Regions from separate parts of the Homo sapiens genome. Here regions 1, 3, 4 and 5 are each linked to region 2. The links are contacts of gene promoters, found by promoter capture Hi-C in blood cells and fetal thymus (Javierre and others, 2016). All regions are on one chromosome and are shown on one strand. Each heading gives the region's core, a stretch centred on a gene start or on the middle of the fragment in contact. The rest is flanking DNA. Distances are from core to core; before and after follow the strand shown. Region 1 has its middle 12 kb from the start of INSL5. Region 2 holds the start of SLC35D1 (solute carrier family 35 member D1). Region 3 overlaps SERBP1 (SERPINE1 mRNA binding protein 1). Region 4 overlaps DYNLT5 (dynein light chain Tctex-type family member 5). Region 5 has its middle 21 kb from the start of LINC01702.

The links. Contacts are between HindIII fragments. The CHiCAGO score rates a contact against its expected background, and 5 or more counts as called.
Region 1: a contact is called between a fragment that was not itself captured here and the fragment with the promoter of SLC35D1 in region 2, in 1 of 17 cell types (total CD4 T cells). The highest score is 5.4, in total CD4 T cells.
Region 3: a fragment that was not itself captured here is called in contact with the fragment with the promoter of SLC35D1 in region 2 in 1 of 17 cell types (total CD8 T cells); the score reaches 6.8 in total CD8 T cells.
Region 4: a fragment that was not itself captured here is called in contact with the fragment with the promoter of SLC35D1 in region 2 in 1 of 17 cell types (fetal thymus); the score reaches 6.7 in fetal thymus.
Region 5: a contact is called between a fragment that was not itself captured here and the fragment with the promoter of SLC35D1 in region 2, in 3 of 17 cell types (non-activated CD4 T cells, total CD4 T cells and total CD8 T cells). The highest score is 5.4, in non-activated CD4 T cells.

What each region holds. Positions count from the first base shown.
Region 1 is chr1:66,788,182-66,790,881 of GRCh38, reverse strand. No RefSeq gene overlaps it. Among named protein-coding and RNA genes, the nearest start is that of INSL5, 12 kb to the left of the region's middle. The HindIII fragment of the contact is 1,546 bases long and covers 559-2,104 here.
Region 2 is chr1:67,052,859-67,055,558 of GRCh38, reverse strand. It overlaps SLC35D1 (solute carrier family 35 member D1), which reads left to right and starts at 1,411. Exons shown (of 12, transcript NM_015139.3): 1 at 1,411-1,748; 2 at 2,570-2,603. The coding sequence starts at 1,546. RefSeq lists silencers at 1,307-1,496, 1,787-1,996. The HindIII fragment of the contact is 15,835 bases long and covers 1-2,700 here.
Region 3 is chr1:67,418,188-67,420,887 of GRCh38, reverse strand. SERBP1 (SERPINE1 mRNA binding protein 1) reads left to right here. Exons shown (of 8, transcript NM_001018069.2): 6 at 702-879. Among named protein-coding and RNA genes, the nearest start is that of SERBP1, 11 kb to the left of the region's middle. The HindIII fragment of the contact is 871 bases long and covers 984-1,854 here.
Region 4 is chr1:66,770,782-66,773,481 of GRCh38, reverse strand. The region is part of intron 3 of DYNLT5 (dynein light chain Tctex-type family member 5); the gene reads right to left. Among named protein-coding and RNA genes, the nearest start is that of DYNLT5, 20 kb to the right of the region's middle. The HindIII fragment of the contact is 336 bases long and covers 1,215-1,550 here.
Region 5 is chr1:67,500,072-67,502,771 of GRCh38, reverse strand. No RefSeq gene overlaps it. Among named protein-coding and RNA genes, the nearest start is that of LINC01702, 21 kb to the left of the region's middle. RefSeq lists an enhancer at 1,983-2,486. The HindIII fragment of the contact is 1,207 bases long and covers 807-2,013 here.

The sequences.
Region 1 (2,700 bases), core at 82-2,581, 260 kb after region 2:
TAAACTTACACCAGAATTTTTTGCCACTGTGAATGAGAAATTTCTTCCATGTTCATTTCTAATTACTTGTTGCAGTGCAAAGAAAAATCTTGATTTTTAAAACATTATCTTATCTCCAAGCACCTTGCCAAGTAATTTTATTAAGTTTAATAGCTGCTTGACTAATTCATTTTGGATTTTTGAGGTATGCAATATTATCATCTACAATGAAAAGATACTTCTGTCTCTTCTTTTATAGGATTTAAGCTGATTGTTTCATATTCTTGACTTACTACCTTACTCATTATTCAATAATTATTTATTGAGAGAGTAATGCGCGAGGCATGGTTCTGGGTAGTAAGAATAAAGCTGTGAGTAGAACAGAAAAAGTGCATATTATAATGGATGGCACATGTAAACAGGAGTAATATTAGATTATTATTGATGCTGAGAAGAAAATAAACCATGGAAGGGGGATGGGAAAGCTTGGGTGGGGGGATAAAGGGAATTGAGTTTTAAGCAGGGTGGCCAGGGAAGGCCTCACAGGGAAGTGATCATTAAAAAAATGTAAATCAAGCTTGTCCAATCTGTGGCCTGTGGGCTGTATGAGGTCCAGGATGGTTTTGAATACTGTCCAACACAAATTAGTAAACTTTCTTAAAACATTATGAGTTTTTTTTGGTTGTTGTTTTGTGTGTGTGTGTGTGTGTGTGTGTGTGTCTGTGTGTGTGTTTTAGCTCGTCAGCTATCGTTAGTGTTAGTGTATTTTATGTGTGGCCCAAGACAATTCCTCTTCTTCCAGTGTGGCCCAGGGAAGCTGAAAGATTGGACACCCCTGATCTAAATGATAATAACGACAGTAAACATCTCTCCCATGTTCGTAATTGTAATGGAAATGGCTTTAGCATTCACTACTCAGTATGACATTTGTTGGTTGAAATATGAATAAATAAAACAATAAATAATGAATTAATCTATATTATACATGTATATATAATATTTGTAATTATCTTAAAAGCATTATCCTATTACATATTGCTGAAGGACTCATTTTGTTGGAAATTCTTCTAAATTTCATAAAATACACATTTAATTTTATCATATGGTATTTTTCTCTTTAGTAAATGTGAAGAGTTCTGTTGAGAATCTTTCTTATGTTGAAATGTCTCTATATTCTCAGAATAAATCCATTTGATCACAGTATAGCATTCTCTAATACTCAGAAGCATTGCATTTAATATTTTATTTAGAATTTTTGTATCTGTGTTCATAAATAAAACTGATCTATATGTTTTGTCAATAAAGATTATTCTAGCCTTACAGAATGAAGGCATTATTTGTTCTTTAAAAATCTGGAAGAAAAAAGCTGTAATAGAATCTTTAGCCTCGTGACTTAAAAAAATTCACTGGAGTATAATACACATACAATAAAGTGCATGACTTTTAAGTGAAGTTTTACTTATTTGTACACAAATGAATTGTAAAAATATTTCCAATAATTAATAATGTATTCTCTTTTTTATATACCACTGCACTTTATTTGTTAGCATTTTGCTTAGCATATATTTTCATAAACAACATTGATGTTTTTTATAATACCATGTTAATAAATTTTTAAGTAACATTTATGTTTTTTCTGTAATATACTTCAGTGATTTTGCTATCAGGGTTAAGCTAGCTCCATAAAATGAGTTGGAAAGTGGTCCTTCTTTCTTTAATCTCCGAGTGTTTAAGATTGATACTATTTCTTCTTTAAATGATTGGGCCCTTAAATGGCTTTTACTTGTGCTTGTGAATTGGGATGCAAGCAAGCAATTTAACTATATATTTTAAAAAAATTATTACACCTGTCCTACCAAAGTTCTTGTTATATAACACATTTCCTTAAAGGAAAAAAATAAATATAATTATATAATTAACCAACAACATACAGTTTATTTTCCTTTAGTTTCAACATGAAATTATGAGTCTTTAAACTTGATATTTTTCATAGGAATTTAAAAAACTATTTCCCAGAAACCCCTAAACAAATCGGGCTGGATATTCTGTCCTTTTAATAGTTAGATGATTCACCCTCATCATCATCCGTGGGCAACTTTTCTGATCACAAATGTAAAGTGAAGCTTAGTGCTTCCCGTACTGGTTATACTGGTTCCTTGCCTTGCTAGGTGGGGAAATACCCTGGTGGGTGGGTGGAAAACCACAAGTCTCAAGTTATATCCTGCACTAAAATTAAAAAACAAAAGTGTACTCAAATTGGCAAGGAAAGAAATTAAGAAGAGATTACAGGAGACTTTAAACAGATAATATATATGTCTAAATAAACCTTTAGTATGTTTATTCTGTGTGAACATACTAGAGGAATATATAAATTCAAATGAGAATTAACAGGATAAAATAGGCGGCAGTAAACAGAAATGTTCAAAGGAATCAAGAAATTACTGAAGTGAGAGTTAAGACATCCGAATGAAACATTTAAAAACAGGTAGACATCAGCCACGAGAAGCTAAATTTGGAGATGTACAGGACTGTATAATAAATGTGGACTTGAGAAGAAATTGTCATTCAAAGAAGGCAGCAGCAGATGATTAAAGGTGATAAAAGAAAAAATGTAATCTAGGGTATTACATTAGGGTAGTGAGCAGAAATTGCAAAAATATCTGTTCAATTTTTTAGAAAAGAGTTTCTGCAGGAAAAAATTAGAGGTTGAGAGTAAGCATC
Region 2 (2,700 bases), core at 162-2,661:
CGATGTGAATGCAGTTAATGCCATGCAATTGCATACTCAAAAAGGGTTAAAATGATAAATTTTATACTTTGTATATTTTGCCACAATTTATTTCTTTCTTTAAGATGGTCTTGTGCTGTTGCCCAGGCTGGAGTGCAGTAGTATGATCATAGCTCATTGCAGCCTTGACCTCCTGGGCTCAAGCCATCCTCCCACCTCAGCCTCCTGAGTAGCTGGGACCACAGGCGTGCGCCACCACATCTGGCTAATTTTTTTATTTTCTTGTAGAGAGAGGGTCTCACTTTGTTGCCCAGCATGGTCTCAAACTCCCGGGCTCAGGCATTCCACCTGCTCCCAAAGTGCTGGTATTACAGGTGTGAACCACTATACCTGGTTTACCAAAATATAAAAATAAGAAAAAAAAAAAAAAGAAATTTAAAAAGATACAGACCAAGCACTTAGAAAAATAATTCAAAGTTCTTCTTTCCTAATCTATTAAAGTTCAATACGTAATTTCTTTGCTTAAACCGATCATAATGATTTGCTTCTGTTATACAATAATGACTACCATTTACCGAAAACTAGCTCTTTGCTAGCTACACATCCACAGAGATCAGGTTCAGGGAGGTCATCTAATTGGTCCAAGACACACAATAAGGAGTGAGTGTGTTGGTGGGGGGGGGGGGGGTCGTCATTTCTAGGAATCCTACAATTGGAAATCAAGTCTTTTAGGCTCCAAACACCTTGTGCTTTCCCCAATCCCCAAGCTGCTTATCTTGCTACTTTTTGGGATATGTCAACATTTTTCTTAAAACAAACAAACGAAACTTCTCAATCTGAAAAGTATTGTTTGGTGTTTTCTGGGTTCAGAAAATGTAAGAAGCCTGAGGCATTGCGGAATGAAATTTTCGTTGAGTGTTTACTGTTGATCCACATCTGATACTTTTGAAGGGTTTTTACCCCCTGCAAGAGAGACTAAAAGAGCATTCAGAATTAGTCTAGACGCAGTGTACTGTAACTACTTGGCCGGCCACCTGTAACAGAGGGGAGGAGGGTCTGCACTTAGTTGCGGCAGTTATCCGGAGAATACGGCCTTCCAGCCCCTCTGCCACCAGACTCCCCACGCCCCAGGTACGCGCCCCGCGGAGAGACCCAGCGCGTGCTCGTGCGCAGGCGCAGGGCGACTGTCACCCGGAGTCTGTGGTTTGTCGCCCGGCGCTCTGGTGTCTCGATGTAGTTCCCCTGGCTTCTCCTTATCCGCCTCGGGCAGGGGGGTCGCCACTGCCCCTTCTCCAGGCTCTCTCCAACCCCTGCCCAGGCTAAGCCCGGCGCGGCCCTACTCTCTGACCCCGCGTTGCACAATGCCCGAGCAAAGTCTCCAGGGGTGTGAACCCCGGCGTCCCTGCCCCTGGGCGGGGACAGGCGGCGGCCAAGCGGGGAGTCGAGGCGGCGAGCGCGCAGCTGGCCTAGTCTGCGGTCCCCAACTCCTGGAGTCCCCTGGGAGCTGCCGCTGCAGGCCCCCGAGCCGCTAGGCCCCGCCGCCAGGCCACCGCTGCTGCGGCAGCCATGGCGGAAGTTCATAGACGTCAGCATGCTCGGGTTAAAGGAGAAGCCCCCGCGAAATCCTCCACACTCCGAGATGAGGAGGAGCTGGGGATGGCGTCGGCCGAAACGCTGACCGTGTTTCTGAAGCTGCTGGCCGCCGGCTTTTACGGCGTGAGCTCCTTCCTGATCGTGGTGGTGAATAAGAGCGTGCTCACCAATTACAGGTAGGGCCGAGGCGGCGGCGGCCCAGGCCGCGGAGGAGGAGCGGGCGGCGGCGGCGGCGCGGCGCCGGCTCCCTGGACTTTGACTGCCAAAGTTAAAGCCGAACAAAGTTGGGCGGGAGCTGGGGAGGGCGGGCGGCTGACGCGCGCGGCCCGGGCAGCGGAGCCGGCCTGGCGAGCGGGCCTGTGGCAGGGGTCCGCTCCCTGCGCGGAGCTCCGGCCGGCCCGGCACATTTGGGGCTCGCCTGCCATGCCCTGGGCGCACCGCCCCGAAAACCCTGCCCTTCAGAGAGATGGAGCAAAGTGATTTGCTTGGTGACTTTTGAGCCGTTATGCCTGTCGATCAGGGAGGAGAGCGAGGGAAGCCTCCCTCCTCCGCAGCCTGGACAGGGGGCCGGGGCTTCAGTGTCCCCTGCACCCGCTGACAGCCTCTGGGGACGTACGCATCCTCAACCCAGCAGACAATTATTCCCTTGCTAACACTGGGACCCAGAGGCAGAAGTTGGTTGTTTTTTTTTTTAAGGTGTGTGAAATCGTTGCAGAGATCTGTATCTGCACTGCCTTGAGAAATCCTTTGCAGGCAGCGGACTGAAACTGTAGACTCGGACAAGATGGGACAAGCGGCCGCCCGAGGCTACATCAGCGGGGTGGACTGACAACCAACAGGCAGAGAGTTTTCTCCCAAGATTTTTGTTTGATTTAGGGGCGGACGTTGATGTGGCTTGTATCGGAATGCCTTATTAACGTTGCCGATGTGCAAATTGAATTCACGGAGCTAAGTTAGGTTTGTTCTGATCTTGTTTTTTTCTTTGCCCTTTTTGTAGATTTCCCTCCTCACTATGTGTTGGACTTGGCCAGGTTAGTTGGAATCCTCACCATTACGTGGTTTATGTTGTTAGAACTTCTGTGTGTGTCTTTATGTGTAGAACAGTGAATCTGTGTTCTCTTGTTTACA
Region 3 (2,700 bases), core at 170-2,669, 370 kb before region 2:
TTAAGACCTGAGAATTATATTTGGAAATAAATGGTTTAGTATTAAATAATGAAACCAGTGTGTGTTTGTGGATAGTTCTATTAGTAGTGAATCCATGGCCTCCTTTCCATATACAGGTTGGTTTGAAAATTGGAGTATAAGGATTTTAGGATTTGTAGAAACACGGCTATTGTTTTGATTTGCTCTAAGTGCTAGTTGCTGAAACAAAGCATAGAGGAACAGTTCTTTTATATTCCAAAATTTGAACCCTGGTTGCTGACAGACATCCTAGAGGATTACCTTCTTGTATGTTATTAAGAGTTACATATTGTGGGAATTATGGAAATTAAAAATGTGGTTTAGGAGAAGATAGGCTGAGGATTTTACATAAGAGGGTAGTTTTTAAACAAGGTAGTGTTTTTAAGAAATGTGTATTTTAGTATTCGTAAAGCCAGTTCTAGATTGTATTACTGATAAATGATCATTTAAGAGTTCATAAGTATGAATTCCATATTCCTTACTTGTCTCTAATTAGCAAACACTGAATTCCTGGTCTCTACCAAGTTGCTTAGTTACATAGGAAACTAGGGTACCCTCATCCTTGAATAATCTTTCTCTAAAAGATTACAAGGTTAATTTTCTCAATTAAAATCATAAATTTAAAATACTTTTATGTAATATCAGCTCTCTACCAGGTATAAAACTTGAAAACCTTTTCACAGGGAGAATGAAGTTGAAGAGGTAAAAGAGGAGGGTCCAAAAGAGATGACTTTGGATGAGTGGAAGGCTATTCAAAATAAGGACCGGGCAAAAGTAGAATTTAATATCCGAAAACCAAATGAAGGTGCTGATGGGCAGTGGAAGAAGGGATTTGTTCTTCATAAATCAAAGAGTGAAGAGGTAAAATTAAGTTTTGTCGTGTTTGAAAATGTTCAGATGTGACTTGAATTGTATTTATAATTTTTGTTTTAAAATTTCACATGGGTTATTTGTCTGTTAAAGCTTTACATAGGATCATTTGGGGCAGATAATTTGCTTTATAAGGAAAATAAACTGTATTATCACATATTCTAAGAAATTTAGTCCTTTGATCAATTTGTAATTATGTTTTATGTGGTAGAGTTACTTTTTCCTAAAAAGCTGTTAGTGGAGTATCTTGTAGTTATTGGTGTTCAGAAATATGATAGTTCTTTTCAAAGTTGTGGTTGTATTTTTGAAATCTTGCCAAACTGGGGATCATTAAAGGGCTGTGGTATTATGGTGTTAGGTTGAAATCTTGACATTTTCATATGGTTTAACCTAAAATGTAAGTGACTTCATTTAGAATTCAACTTTTGAAACTGTCTGCCTATACCATATATAATGGCCAGGACACTCAGTAAATGGCAATGTGCATTTTGTCTAAGGAATGACGACTTTAAAAACCAAAGTATATGTGGGTTTTACTTAAGAAACATGGAAACTAGTGAAAATACAGTTGACTTGTTGAACAACATGAGGATGCTAGGGGCACTGACCCCGCAGATCAATGCACATGTAACCTTTGACTCTCCCAAAACTTAACTACTAATAACCTGTTGACTGAAAGTCTTAGTGATAACATAACCAGTTAACACATTTTGTATGTTGCGTATTATATACTGTGTTTTTACAGTAAAGTAAGCTAAAGAAAATGTTGAGAAAATATATTTACTGTTCATTAAGTGGAACTGGATCATCACAAAGGTCTTTATTTTGGATAGGAAGAAAAGGGATTGGGCTTGCTTGTCTCAAGACTGACAGAGGCAGAATGTTCAAAGCCACGTTGTTCAAGGGTCAACTGTATTGGAGAAAGTCACATTGATGGCTTTTGATTTGGTAGCTTCCGTTTAAGCTTTGGGGTGTGTTCTTAGAGGAATGTTTCAGTGCGGCTTCCTGTTTGGCTTTAAAAACTCATACAAGCCCTAACTATATTATTTCTTCTCCTAAATTCATTTTCTCTATCAGCTTCCTTTAACCTTTTGACATTTGTGTTTGATTTATTCATATCATAAATTGGGCTGTGCCAGAAATCCAGACTGAGTTTTATCATCCTAAGGTAAAGTTAAATTAAAATATTGTGAGGGCAAACCCTTTCAATAAGGTATTAGTTATTTTTATTTTTTTTTTTTGAGACAGAATCTGGCTCTGTCGCCCAGGCTGGAATGCAGTGGCACCATCTCTGCTTACCGCAACCTCCACCTCCCGGATTCAAACAGTTCTTGTGTCTCAACCTCCTCAGTAGCTGGGATTACGGACACTCGCCACCATGCCCGGATAATGTTTGTGTTTTTAGTAGAGATGAGGTTTCATCATGTTGGCCAGGCTGGTCTCAAACTCCTGGCCTCAGTGATCCCCGCCTGCCTCAGCCTCCCAAAGTGCTGGGATTATAGGCGTGTGCCACCATGCCCAGCCAATAAGCATAATTTTTTAAACTGCAAAATGGCTATAAGACAAACTTGGAAACATTTTAAAATAAAATGGAGGTTAAAAAGATTAAAAGTTTTTTTAGGTTTAGAGATGATTTTTAACATTTACTTCATATGAGTAGTAAATGAGGACATTGTCTTTTTTAAGTCCTGTAGAAAAAAAACTGCATTAGAACACGTGGTTTCAGCCAGGCGCAGTGGCTCACACCTGTAATCCCAGCACTTTTGGGAGACTGAGGCGGGCGGATCACCTGAGGTCGGGAGTTCAAGACCA
Region 4 (2,700 bases), core at 133-2,632, 280 kb after region 2:
GAGGACGTAAGTCTGGAGACAGTGAGGCCTGTGGGATTAGGAAGGACCCCATGTGGTGGTGTAAAATCAATGCTGAGAGATTGACAGGCTCTAAGAAAACCTGACATAGAGACAGGGCCTGAGCACTTCATGGAAGCTGAACTCAAATAATCTCTCTCTTTCTCTCTCAATATTTTGGATCTACTTTCTACTGTGCTGGCTTCATTCTCAAGGCAGGCTGTCTTGATGTGGTAGCAAAGATGGCCGCCAATCTAGTTTGGCTCGGTGCTCGCAGTCCATGTTTGCAAACAACCAGGTGCCACTATACTCAGTTCCAGAAAAAGTCCTGTGGAAAACTTATTCCATAATTAATATGAAGTTACAATGAATATCATGGAAGGCTTTTATTCTTAGTGATCTATAGTAAGGTCCTTGAGTCAGTCACTTTCAGGAGTAGTAACATGATGAATGGAGAGATTTAAACATATAACATCATTTGAGTCTCATAGCATCCATGTGATGTATAGACTATTATCCCTATTTACAAGTGAAGACACTGAGATTCAATGATGCTAAATACCTTGCTCAAGGAATTAGCAAAATTAGTATTCAAATTCAGATACGACAGATGCCACAGCCTGCATTTTCTTTTATATTTGTTTTAGTAATTAATGAGAAATATATAAATGGTATTTTATTAAAAGAAACACACTTTCCTTTTCTATTCCCTTTTCTCCTCTCATGAATGATACTCATGTTTCATCTCATTTTTTGTAGCTGTAATTATTTATGTAAATGCTCTCATTTAAGATGTGTTTAGATGAGGCAAACATTATTGAATGGAATGAAAAATTAATTAAACATAATAGTGCTGGTGATTGGCTGATATTTCCCTCTACTTTTCTGGCCAGTATTACATTGTAAAGATATGATAAACTATTTACCAAAGTCCCACTGATATAGTTTGGATATTTGTCCCCTTCAAATCTCATATTGAAATGTGATCCCCAGTGTTGGAGGTGGGGCCTGGTGGGAGGTGTTGGGGCCAGGAAGGTGGATCCCTCATGAATGGCTTGGTGCTGTCCCAGCGGTAATTACTGAGTTCTTGCTCTATAGTTCTTCCTCTATTAGTTCACATGAGAGCTGGGTGTTTAAAACAGCCTGGCACCTCTCTTGTTCCCTCTCTTGCCATGTGACATGCCAACTCTCCTTCCCTTCTGCCATGCCTAAAAGCTTACTGAGGTCTTACCAGAAGCAGATGTTGGCACCACGTTTCCTGTATAGTCTCTAGAACCATGAGCCAAATAAACCTGTTTTCTTTATAAATTACAGTCTCAGGTATTTCTTTATAGCAATGCAAAAACGGACTAATACACTCACAAAATACCTTTCATATGTGAAATAAACCCAGAAACAAGTAGAAGTGGAAACACAGTTTTGATTAAGTATTAATAAAATGGCTGGTTGAATGCTATAAAAAGGGAATTGTCAAGCATAAAATATTTTAATTATTAAAAAATTCACATAGACTATTGTAGGAAAATACAGGTATATTTCATCTATACTAAGCTTTTTCTAAAATTACTTTTCTAATGTGGTTCATACTCAGTACTTCTAAAACTGATAAGATGCTTTATTTGAGAAAACAAGTTGCAAAAAATATCCTTATGTAGAAACACAGAGATTCACATTTCACTGGCCCTGTCTTGTTCAAATCTGATTCAAACCCTTCCAGCATGCACAGTTCAAAGTCATAGACACCCCATGGCTAAGAACTTTTAGTTGCAAGTGAGGGAAAACCTGACCCAAACTTAGCTTGCCTAACTGAAAAGTTAAAGGGTAGCCAATTGGATTTAGGACTCAAATGATGACACCAGGATTCTGTTGTTTTCTCTCAGTTTCAAGTCAGGGCAAGGTGGCAGATCCTGCCAGAGCCCCTACATTCCTTCAAGTTTCAGGGCTTTATGTTCTTCTGCAACAGGCCAAACAACATTTTCTGAATTTAATCTCAAAGTCTTTGATTGGATTCACCATGGTTATATGCCATCCTAGAATCAGTCACTGCTCTATCTATAAAGCCAGTGCCAGCTTCATTAGAATGCTAGGATCAAAAGTGGTGATGTTGGTGGAATTTCAAAGGAAATTTAGTGAGGTTACCAGAGAAGTATAAAAGTATATTGGATGGCAGGAATATTAGCTGTCCACCACAGGCACTGTGAAAATACCAGTAGATTGGCTAATTATGGAGCCGTGTAATCCATGTAGTCTTGGGGACTCCTGTAGAAAACTGGCTACAAGGCCAGAGGGGACAGGCTGATGGTCTATAATTTTCTTGGGGTTAACTGGCCACAGATGGAATCACCTTGGCCCATAGAGTCTTTCTTTGCCCCTTGGTAAATCTCTGTGGAATTTCCATATAGCAGTAATTATGTATGAATTCAGGTAATAGTGGGCAGGTACGCTTTTAGAGAAAACAAGTGGGTCTATGAGGAAACATGGATGGGAAAAGATATTTGCCACGGACTCCACCTGGGAGTATAGCGGCAGGTGCAAAGATCTTTGTTTTCAAAGACTCAAAACCTCAGTGGTAATGGATAAACGTCTCTGTCAACAGGGGACTATGAGTCATTTGCCTTTGCTTTGAGTTTTTTTTTTTCCTTCACCTAACAACACTGATTGGTTTTGTTGGATAAAATATCAATACTTATCTCTTTCATTTAA
Region 5 (2,700 bases), core at 161-2,660, 450 kb before region 2:
CATGTAGACTTGAAAAAGCACAATTTTCTTTTTTCTTTTTTTGAGAGAGCATCTTGCTCTGCTGTCCAGGCTAGCATGCAGTGGCACAACCATGGCTCACTGCAGCCTTGACCTCCTGGGCTCAAGTGATCCTTCCACCTCAGACTCTGAGTAGCTGGGACTACAGGTGCGTGCCACCACACTTGGCTAATTTTTTGTATTTTTTGTACAGACAGGGTTTTGCCATGTTGCCCAGCCTGAATTCCTTGGCACAAGCAATCCACCCACCCACCCACCTCAGCCTCCTAAAGAACTGGGATTATAGGCATGAGCCACCATGCCCAGCTGAGAAGGAATAATTTTCAAATGTAGCAGTCTCATAGGCAGCTGGAACACCAGGACTGAAAAGGAATGGGGCTGAGGGGTCGACACCTTCCTTCCCACATTGAGATCTTTCTGCAGACCAGGCTTGCTTCTTTCAGCTGTTGAAGACAGCTTCTTTCAGTTGGTCAATGACCTCTGTGTCTCTGCAGGAACTATTTGCTCTTTGCATAATGTAGTGGTTAAAAACTCAAGTATTAGAGCCAGGCTTCCTGGGTTTGAATCCCAACTCTAACATTTACCAAATGTAGGATTTCAGGTGATTTACTTAGCACCCCACCTGCCTTGTACCATGATTTCTTCATTTGCAAACTGGGATAGTAATTATCTGTATCTCATTGGGTTATTGTGAGGATTCAATGAGTTCATATGTGTAAAGGCTTAGAACAGTTCTCAGTAAATGTCAGTCACCATTATTATCTCATAAGGAGATTATAATATAAGCTTCTTGAAGACCCAGTTGGTGTTCTTCATCTTTTCCTGGCACAGAGATGGTGCTGAATAATAATGAACAGCACAGGCTTTGCAGTCCCAGAGGTCAAATCTCAAATCAGTATTCTACTCAGTAGCTGGGTGAGAATAAGTGTCCTCCTTGTAAAACTGAGATAATAGGCTGGGCATGGTGGCTCACGCCTGTAATCCCAGCACTTTAGCAGGCTGAGGCAGTTGGATCACGAGGTCAGGAGTTCGAGACCAGCCTGGTCAACATGGTGAAACCCTGTCTGTACTAAAAATACAAAAAATTAGCCGGGCGTGGTGACCGGCACCTGTAGTCCCAGCTACTCAGGAGGCTGAGATAGAAAAATCGTTTGAACCCGGGAGGCAGAGGTTGCAGTGAGCCAAGCTCGAGCCACTGCACTCCAACCTGGGCGACAGAGCTAGGCTTCGTCTAAAAACAAACAAAAAAAACACCTGAGATAATAATACCTACTTTGTAGAATTGCTGTATTGAATGAGATAATGTATGTAAATCTCCAGGGACACAGCAAACCTTAAAAAATGCAAACTCTTATTATCCGGGCTAGGTATAGTGTTGTGGGTGTGGAACCAGACTGCTTGGTTTTGAATTCCCGTTCTGCTATACAGTTGCTCTGGGATCTTGGCAAGTTACTTAAGTTCCTTGGACCTCTGTTTTTCTCTCTGTAAAGTGGGAATAATGGTAATAGGGTTGTGGTGTGGCTCAAATAAGAAAATGCATATATTGGCCCAGAGCTTGAGCCAATGCCAGCTTCTTATGATTTGCTTTATAAATCGATGAAGTGTTGAGAAGGTGTTTTAAAATGCACTTGCTAAAGAACAAAATCCATGAGCTCCATAACTGCAAAGACCCATCCTGAAGTCAGATTCTTATTGAGCCAAACCTCGAAAGCAAAGATAGCTCTGAAAGGCAGTAGCCAGGGAACTAAGCCCCTTCTCTAGGTAAGACGTGGGGACAATTAGCACCTAGAATCATAGGCTGCTAGAGCCAGAAGGATCTTTGTGGCTAGTTCATTGTGGGTTGTTTCCTCCTGAGTAATTGAAACCCAGGGAGGTCAGGGGACCCCACCCTAGTTGTGGACTGAGCCAGGACCAAGATTCAGGTCAGTTTAGTGGTTTCGTCACTGCAGCACGATGCTTCCCCATTCCGCAGCCCCCACCTGTGAAAATGAAGCTTGTAGATGCTGCCTATCGCCTGTTCCAAGGCGCCAGGCAGCCGCGAACTTCAAACTCCCCCTGGGCTAAAAGTTCAGCCAGAGCAGTAGATTCAAGCAAGAATGGTGTGGGATCCACTCTTGGCCTGTAGAGGGCGCTCTGAGCACAGGCCAGGGAGCTCGAGCCTGGGACGCGCCACGGCTACGTGGCCTCCAGGGCGAGTGAGGATGGCTGGCTGATTGCTTTTCGCGGGGCATGGGGAAAAGCCTTCAGCCCTTACGCCATCCAGCAGGTGAATGCACTTATGTCCAACAGTAGGTATCACACTTTTTGGTCTCGTGACTCTTTTATACTCTTATTATTGAGGATCCCAAAGAGCTATTGTTTATATGGGTTATATAGATATTTACCATATTAGAAATTAATAATGAGAAATGTTTAAAACATATACCCATTTAAAAATAGCAACAATAAATAATTAAATATTAGCATAAATAGTATTTTTGCAAAAAAAAAAATTTCCAAAACCCCCCAAAAATGCATTTTTTACAAATCCCTTTAATGTGTGTCTTAATAGAAAAGACCTAAGCCAGGGGCGGTGGCTCACGCCTGTAATCCGAGCACTTTCGGAGGCCAAGGCAGGTGGATCACGAGGTCAGGAGTTCGAGATCAGCCTGACCAATATGGTGAAACCCCGTCTTTACTAAA